2 separate regions of the Homo sapiens genome follow, and region 2 is linked to region 1. Evidence: promoter capture Hi-C in human tissues and cell types (Jung and others, 2019). All regions are on one chromosome and are shown on one strand. Each heading gives the region's core, a stretch centred on a gene start or on the middle of the fragment in contact. The rest is flanking DNA. Distances are from core to core; before and after follow the strand shown.

The links. Contacts are between HindIII fragments. The study calls those that stand out against the background at their distance.
Region 2: a fragment that was not itself captured here is called in contact with the fragment with the promoter of CREBL2 in region 1 in 1 of the 25 tissues and cell types used here (mesenchymal stem cells).

Annotation. Positions count from the first base shown.
Region 1 is chr12:12,608,977-12,613,237 of GRCh38, forward strand. It overlaps CREBL2 (cAMP responsive element binding protein like 2), which reads left to right and starts at 2,900. Exons shown (of 4, transcript NM_001310.4): 1 at 2,900-3,211. The coding sequence starts at 3,197. RefSeq lists enhancers at 2,269-3,020, 2,614-2,693, 2,744-2,793 and a silencer at 2,954-3,253. The HindIII fragment of the contact is 23,854 bases long and covers 1-4,261 here.
Region 2 is chr12:12,078,784-12,082,674 of GRCh38, forward strand. BCL2L14 (BCL2 like 14) reads left to right here. Exons shown (of 6, transcript NM_138723.2): 2 at 516-955. The coding sequence starts at 523. Among named protein-coding and RNA genes, the nearest start is that of BCL2L14, 9.8 kb to the left of the region's middle. RefSeq lists a silencer at 3,052-3,346. The HindIII fragment of the contact is 3,043 bases long and covers 706-3,748 here.

The DNA.
Region 1 (4,261 bases), core at 1,650-4,149:
TGCATGCCTTGGAGGTTCCTTTTGAGAAGATGATATAGGAAAAAAAGATTGAGAACCGTAGATATAGAACACATCCAGGATGCTGAGAGCACATTCTTCCCCTAACCATTTAAAAAACACTTTGCTGTGTTTGCTCTTCTAATCAGTCTGATGCGCAGCTTTCCCTGCCCACCATAAGTTTTACATCCTCTTACCTTCAACTTATCACCACATAGATATTAAACTTGATCTGTATTATTTTTTACCAGATGCTTTGTTTAGTGAATGGTCTAAGTTTTCTGTATGTCACCTCCTGGATTATAAAGTCCTTGAGGATTTACACTGTAATTTTAGAAGTTAATACACCTACTAGGTGCAGTGGCTCATGCCTGTAATTCCAGCACTTTGGGAGGCCGAGGCGGGCGGATCACGAGGTCAGGAGATAGAGACCATCCTAGATAACACGGTGAAACCCAGTCTGTACTAAAAATACAAAAATTAGCTGGGCGTGGTGGTGGGCGCCTGTAGTCCCAGCTACTCGGGAGGCTGAGGCAGGAGAATGGCATGAACCTGGGAGGCAGAGGCTGTAATGAGCCGAGATTGCACCACTGCACTCCAGCCTGGGTGACAGAGCGAAACTCTGTCTCAAAAAAAAAAAAAAAAGTTGCATGGGACACACTTTCCTAAAAGAGTATTTGCGGTTTATCTGAAATTCGAATGTAATTGAGTATTCTGTGTCTATATTGCTAAATCTGAGAACTCTACCTCAGTTGGATTTTGCAAGGGTTGAGAAAGCACTTTGTGAGTCTTTGAAAAGGTGTGAGCCAAAGGGCTCTTCAGGAGCAGCATTGACAAATATGCAATCTTTGTCAAGTTCTCAAAGGCCCGAGGTAGGCCAAAACAAAAACAACAGTAAAAACAAGCTCACTGACTTTATTAAATGAGGACACAGCCAGTTATTTTTAAAATAACTTTATTGAGATATAATCCACTCATTTAAAGTGGTTTAACTACAGTTAAACTACAATTTAGTGGTTTTTAATATATTCACAGGATGTGCAACCATCACCAAAATCAATTTTAGATAATTTTCTTTTCTTCTTTTTTTTTTTTTTTTTTTTTGAGTCGGAGTTTCGCTCTTGTTGCTCAGGCTGGAGTGCAATGGCACGGTCTCAACTCACTGCAACCTCCGCCTCCTGGGTTTAAGCCATTCTCCTGCCTCAGCCTCCCACGTAGCTGGGATTACAGGTATGCTCTCCCAGGCCTGGCCAACTTTGTATTTTTAGTAGAGATGGGTTTCTCCATGTTGGTCAGGCTGGTCTCGAACTCCTGACCTCAGGTGATCAGCCCACCTCGGCCTCCCAAAGTGCTGGGATTACAGGCGTGAGCCACCATGCCCGGCTGAATTTTAGATCATTTTCATCACCTCAAAAAGAAACCCAGTACTCATTAACCGTCACTCTCCTTTCCAGGATCCCTCCATCCCTGCCATTCTTCAACCCTAGCCCTTGGCAACCACTAATGGATTTTTTGGTCTATTTAGATGTGCCTGTTCCAGACACTTCATTATAAATGGAATCATACAATATGTGGCCTATTGTGTCTGGCTTTTTTCACTTCACATAAAGTTTTCAAGGTTCAGACATATTGAAGTGTGTATATCCCTTCATTTTTTTTCATTGCTGAATAATATTTCTTTCCTTTTTTTTTGAGACAGAGTCTTGCTCTGTTGCCCAGGCTGGAGTGCCGTGATCACAGCTCACTTCAGCCTCCAACTCCAGGGCTCAAACGATCCTCCCACCTGGGCCTCCCGAGTGGCTAGGACTACAAGCACCACCACCACACCCAAGTAATTTTTAAATTTTTTGTAACACACCCAACTAATTTTTAATTTTTTTTGTAGAGACTGCATCTTACTATATGGGTCTTCTTCCTTCTTCTTTCTTCTTCCTTCTTCTCCTTCTTCTTCCTTCATCGTTCTTCTTCCTTCTTTCATTCTTCTTCTTCTTTTTTTTTTTTTTAAATACAGTGTCTGGCTCTGTCGCCCAGGCTGGAGTGCAGTGGTACAATCTTGGCTTATTGCAGCCTCTGCCTCCCAGGCCCAAGTGATCCTCTCATGTCAGCCTCCCCAGTAACTGGGATTACAGGCATGTGCCACCACACTCGACTAATTTTTGTATTTTTTTGTAGAGACAGGTTTTGCTATGTTGCCCAGGCTGGTCTCGAACTCTTGGGCTAAAGCAATCCTCCCGCCTCGGCCTCCCAACGTGCTGGGATTACAGGCGTGACCCACCACCCCTGGCCAGTATTTCTTAATTTGTATAGTCCACACTGGTTTATCCATTCATCCAGTAAAGGACATTTGCGTTGTTTCCACTTTTTGACTATTATGAATAATGCTGCTAGGAAAGAACATTTATATACAAGTTTTTGTGTAGTCACTCGTTTTAATTTCTCTTGGGTATGGGAGTGGCCAATATTCTGAAGAACTGCCAAATTTCTTCCCAAAGTAGCTGCACTATTTTACATACTTAGTTTTTGTTTTTCGTTTTTTTTTAAATAAAGAACCTTTAGGGTTTCCTCAGCGTCCCAGAGGAGGGCCTGCTTCCGGCACCCCGCCTTCAGGGCTGCCTCCGCAGAGCACCAAACTCCCGTCCCCGCCATTCCAGGCCCTGGCACTTAGGAGCCAAAACCTCAGGTCAGGCGCACTTTGGGCCTCCAGCCCAGCCCCGCCTCCTCAGCGCTAGCTAGTAGGCAAAAGGAAAACAGCTGCCCCTTAATGAGGCTATGTGGACATCGTAGTTTTTTTTCCAGTCAGTAGCGCAGAGACTGTGATAAGAAAAATCACAATTCCCAGAATGCCGCGGTGCTACGGCAGCCGAAGGGGCCATTCCGTGTGCAGCGCTCCCGCCCACCCTCCGGTCTCGGCGGCTCTCCAGAGCGTCTGTAAACACCCAGAGACTGTCATGGAGGGGGAGGAGGAGGCGGCGGCGGCGAAGGGAGGCGTTTGGGGCCGCCTCCAGGGTCCGCTCTGCCATTCCTGAACTGGTCCCTCGTCCCCGTGACTCTGGCATCAGGGAAGCGAACTGTTAGGCGAGAGGAGGAGGCAGCCAGAACCATATCCCCTTCTTCCTCGGGGCGGGGGCCGGGCCAGGCCGGCTGAGCCGGGGGAGGGCTCCGGGAGGGAGTGCCTGGCCAGGCCGGCCTGTCTGCCGCGATGGATGACAGTAAGGTAAGTCTTGTGGTTTGCACGCGCCGCCGCCTTCTTGTCGCTCAATGCTAGTCCCGCGGCTGAACCTCCGCTATGTAGTCCACGCCAACACCCAAGAGACACCTGCCTAAAACATCCCTGCGCCTCTCCAGTCCACTGCCCGATGGTACCCAGCCAGGAAATCAGGGAACACCGGGGCTGCGTTTTTCCAGGAAGGGCCCTCTCTGGAAATTTTTCACTCCCAGGGCGTTTGCTAGCTTTCCAGGTAGTGCAACCCCTAGTCCTTAACTTGCCTGTCGAGATAAGAAACTACTGTACTTTTTCTTCTTGCACTTTTTTGCTGCCTCCTCTCTCCAGTTTGGAGACTTTAGTGCACGCTGAACCAGCCTTATTCCCCTTGACGATTCCCCTTCTCTCAGGCTCCCTTACTCAATGCCCCATTCATATAATCAGTTCACTCCCCCTCTGAGCTATTTCCTGTGGTTGGTTGGAACACCGCTAAGCTCCTGTTGCTATTTGGCCAGTGTGGAGTTTAACCTCCACTAGAAAGCCTTCTCTAAAAAAATACTGATTTTCCTCTTGTTAACTTTAATAGCCCATCACCATCCAATTTCCCTGTCCAAATCACTTACTTTATGATTATAAAATAATAGATAATGTTCATTATTGGTTAATCCAAATAGTTTATCTATGTATAGCCTTTTTGTCTTTATTTATTAATTGAGACGGAGTTTCGCTCTTGTCGCCCAGGCTGGAGTGCAATGGCGCGATCTCGGCTCACCACAACCTCCGCCTCCCGGGTTCAAGCGATTCTCCTGCCTCAGCCTCCCGAGCAGCTGGGATTACAGGCATGCACCACCATGCCCGGCTAATTTTGTATTTTTGGTAGAGATGGGGTTTCTCCATGTTGGTCAGGCTGGTCTCGAACTCCCAATCTTAGGTGTCCGCTCGCCTCGGCCTCCCAAAGTGCTGGGATTACAGGCGTGAGCCACCGCGCCTGGCCGCCTTTCTCTCTTTACATCTACCCACATTAGTGTTGTTTAGTTTTATTTCCTGAAGATAGGGATGGTC
Region 2 (3,891 bases), core at 977-3,476, 530 kb before region 1:
GTTCATTCTCTCTCTGTTGTTTTTTGTTTTTTGAGACGGAGTCTCACTCTGTCGCCAGGCTGGAGTGCAGTGGCGCAATCTCAGCTCACTACAACCCCCGACTCCTGGGTTCAAGCGATTCTTCTGCCGCAGCCTCCCAAGTAGCCGGGTCTACAGGCGTGCGCCACCATGCCTGGCTAATTTTTGTATCTTTAGTAGAGACGGGCTTTCACTGTATAGGCCAGGCTGGTCTTGAACTCCTGACCTCATGATCTGCCCGCCTTGGCCTCCCAAAGTTTTGGGATTACAGGCGTGAGCCACCGCACCCGGCAGTTCATTTTCTTTATGTGGAGTTATCTATGGCCATGTCTCTCTTCCCACCCTAGTAAGACTGTGGCTTTTCCCTCTCTACCCTCCAGCACAAACACAATAGATGTTCAATAAATGTTTCCTGAGTTTTCACCCCTGTCTCTCCTAACCTGCAAAGGGTAAGTGGCCCTGCATAGAAGGGCACAGTGTGGACTTTGTTGTTACAGGCCCAACATGTGTAGCACCAGTGGGTGTGACCTGGAAGAAATCCCCCTAGATGATGATGACCTAAACACCATAGAATTCAAAATCCTCGCCTACTACACCAGACATCATGTCTTCAAGAGCACCCCTGCTCTCTTCTCACCAAAGCTGCTGAGAACAAGAAGTTTGTCCCAGAGGGGCCTGGGGAATTGTTCAGCAAATGAGTCATGGACAGAGGTGTCATGGCCTTGCAGAAATTCCCAATCCAGTGAGAAGGCCATAAACCTTGGCAAGAAAAAGTCTTCTTGGAAAGCATTCTTTGGAGTAGTGGAGAAGGAAGATTCGCAGAGCACGCCTGCCAAGGTCTCTGCTCAGGGTCAAAGGACGTTGGAATACCAAGATTCGCACAGCCAGCAGTGGTCCAGGTGTCTTTCTAACGTGGAGCAGTGCTTGGAGCATGAAGGTAGGCATCTGGGATTTCTTTCTCTCCCGCTTCCTGGTTTTTCCCTTCTTTGTGTCCAGAGTGGTACATCTCTTCTCATGTTGTAAAGTGGCTTTAGAGAAGGCATGCGTTGTGCCTCAGCTTTCCAACTTATTAGTGTTCAATCATAATTGCCCTGCTTTTCTCAAGACTAAAAGGAGTTGCTGCCTGGGCGCGGTGGCTCACGCCTGTAATCCCAGCACTCTGGGAGGCCAAGGCGGGTGGATCATGAGGTCAGGAGATTGAGACCATCCTGGCTAACACGGTAAAACCCCGTCTCCACTAAAAAATACAAAAAATTAGCCGGGCGTGTTGGCGGGTGCCTGTAGTCCCAGCTACTCGGGAGGCTGAGGCAGGAGAATGGCGTGAACCCAGCAGGCGGAGCTTGCAGTGAGCCAAGATGGCATCACTGCACTCCAGCTTGGGTGACAGAGTGAGACTCCGTCAAAAAAAAAAAAATGACTAAAAGGAAATGATGGAAGTTAAGGGTGCTGGGACTGGTTTTCTTTCTCCACTGTCTATAAATAAGCTTGTTTCCCAAATTCCTAGTCCTCTGTACCAGACACCAATATAAAAGAAGGAGGCTAGGCGCAGTGGCTCATGCCTGTAATTCCAGCACTTTGGAAGGTTGAGGTGGGCAGATCATAAGGTCAGGAGTTCAAGACTAGCCTGGCCAACATAGTGAAAACCCGTCTCTACTAAAGATACAAAAAATTAGCCGGGCATGGTGGCGCATGCTTGTATTCCCAGCTACTCGGGAGGCTGGGGCAAGAGAATCGCTTGAACCTGGGAGGCGGAGGTTGCAGTGAGCCGAGATTGCATCACTGCACTCCAGCCTGAGCTACAGGGTAAGACTTTGTCTCAAAAAAAAAAAAAAAAAAGAACGAGCCCTAACCAGGGGCTTGCTTGGGCTGCCTGGGCCGCTGCTCTTCCTAAGTCAACTCATTCGCTCAGGGCCTCTGTGTTTCCATCTGTACATTGGGTACCCCACTCTCTCCACCTCGTATGGTTGATGGGAAGATCAGAGAGCAAGAGTAAAAGGACTCTTGACAAAGTACAAACCATCCTACAAAAACAACTGAGAAGCATTTAGACAAAATCTTCCCTCAGTTGGACAAAATTAATTGTACTTAATGAAACATTTTCACCAGGCACTGAGGCTCATACCTGTAATCCCAGCACTTTGGGAGGCCAAGGTGGGTGGATCGGTTGAGCTCAGGAGTTCAAGACCAGCCTTAGCAACATGGCAAAACCCTGTCTCTACCAAAAAATACAAAAAAATTAGTCAGACATGGTGGTGCACGCCTGTGGTCCTGGCTACTCGGGAGGCTGAGGTGGGAGGATGGCTTGAGCCTGGGAAGTAGAGGTTGCAGTGAGCCAAGATGATGCCACTGCACTCCAGCCTGGGTGACAGAGTGAGAGCCCATCACGTCGATACTCTCAGCACTGTGGGAAACCAAGGCAGGAGGATCACTTGACACCAAGAGTTTGAGATCAGCCTGGCATCATAGCAAGACCCTGTCTCCATTAAAAAATTAAAATAAAAAAATTAGCGAGGCATGGTGGCACATGCCTGTTGTCCCAGCTACTATGGAGGCTGAGGTGGAAGGATCACTTGAGCTCAGGAGGTCAAGGCTGCAGTGAGCGAAGATCACATCACTGCACCCCAGCTCTGGGTGACATAATGAGACTCTGTCTCCAAAAAAAAAAAAAAAAAGACAGTTGCCCTTCATGCGCACACCTTGGCATAAGCATCTTCTTCCCCTTCAACAAAGCCCAGTGCCCAAAGCCCAGATTTTTTTTTTTTTTTTAAGGTGTTTTAGATGGAGTCTTGCTCTGTCGCCCAGGCTGGAGTGCTGTGGTGTAATCTCGGCTCACTGCAAGCTCCGCCTCCCAGGTTCAAGCAATTCTCCTGCCTCAGCCTCCTGAGTAGCTGGGATCACAGGCGCGCACCACCAGGCCTGGCTAATTTTTGTATTTTTAGTAGAGACAGCGTTTCACCATGTTGGTCAGGCTGGCCTCGAACTCCTGACCTCGTGATCTGCCCACCTTGGGCTCCCGAAGTGCTGGGATTACAAGTGTGAGCCACTGCACCCAGCCGCAAAGCCAGATTTTAAAAGAAAGGCCCCCTCCTGCTGAGTTTCATTGGCCTGGGTAACTTGTCAATAATTAGTCAAGAGGTGGCAGTAATGTCTCAGTTTTTAAATGTGACAGTCCTGGCTTGCTTGGAGAATCAGCCCACTCATAGACAGCTTTAGATCACTCACTATGATCAAGGAAACTCCCTTTTCCCATTAGAGTTTCAGATGTTTAGAACAGTGGGAGTTATGGTCAGGATCATCTGAGGGAACCTCATGGCACAGACAGGATGAGGAAATGGGAGTCCCACAAAAAGGGCTTACCAAGGAAACATCCAGGAAGTAGCAGAGCCTGGACTCACCAGAAGTCCAGGCCTCTCCCTAGACTTGTTTCATTTTTACAGCAAGGCATCTGCTCTCTGAACTCTGCCCAGCTAGGGCAGGTCTAGGGCAAGAGGGAGCGGCCCCCTGTGGTCCTTCCCTCCACATCTGCCTCCCCACCCCTCAGCTGCCCTCACCCAGCCATGGCTTCTTCTGCCGGGGGTGGCATCTGGGCTCTGGGGCAAAGAACAGTTTGGAGGCACCTAAATAGGCTTTTCTACTTGGCCTGTACTGTGGACTTTGCCAGCAGACAGAGAAAGCTTTTACAGACCTTAGTCTTCTGGTTTTTCCTGAGATAAATTGCATTCTGTATTTCAGTATTTACTGGAGTGTCATTTGACATTTTTTTTATTTTCTAAAATTTCAAGAGAAGCTTTTATTTCTTTTTTCAGTAGGGAAAGAAAACTTTTATGTGAGATTGAGAATTAAAGATTACATTCAAAAACACTTAGGTGATGT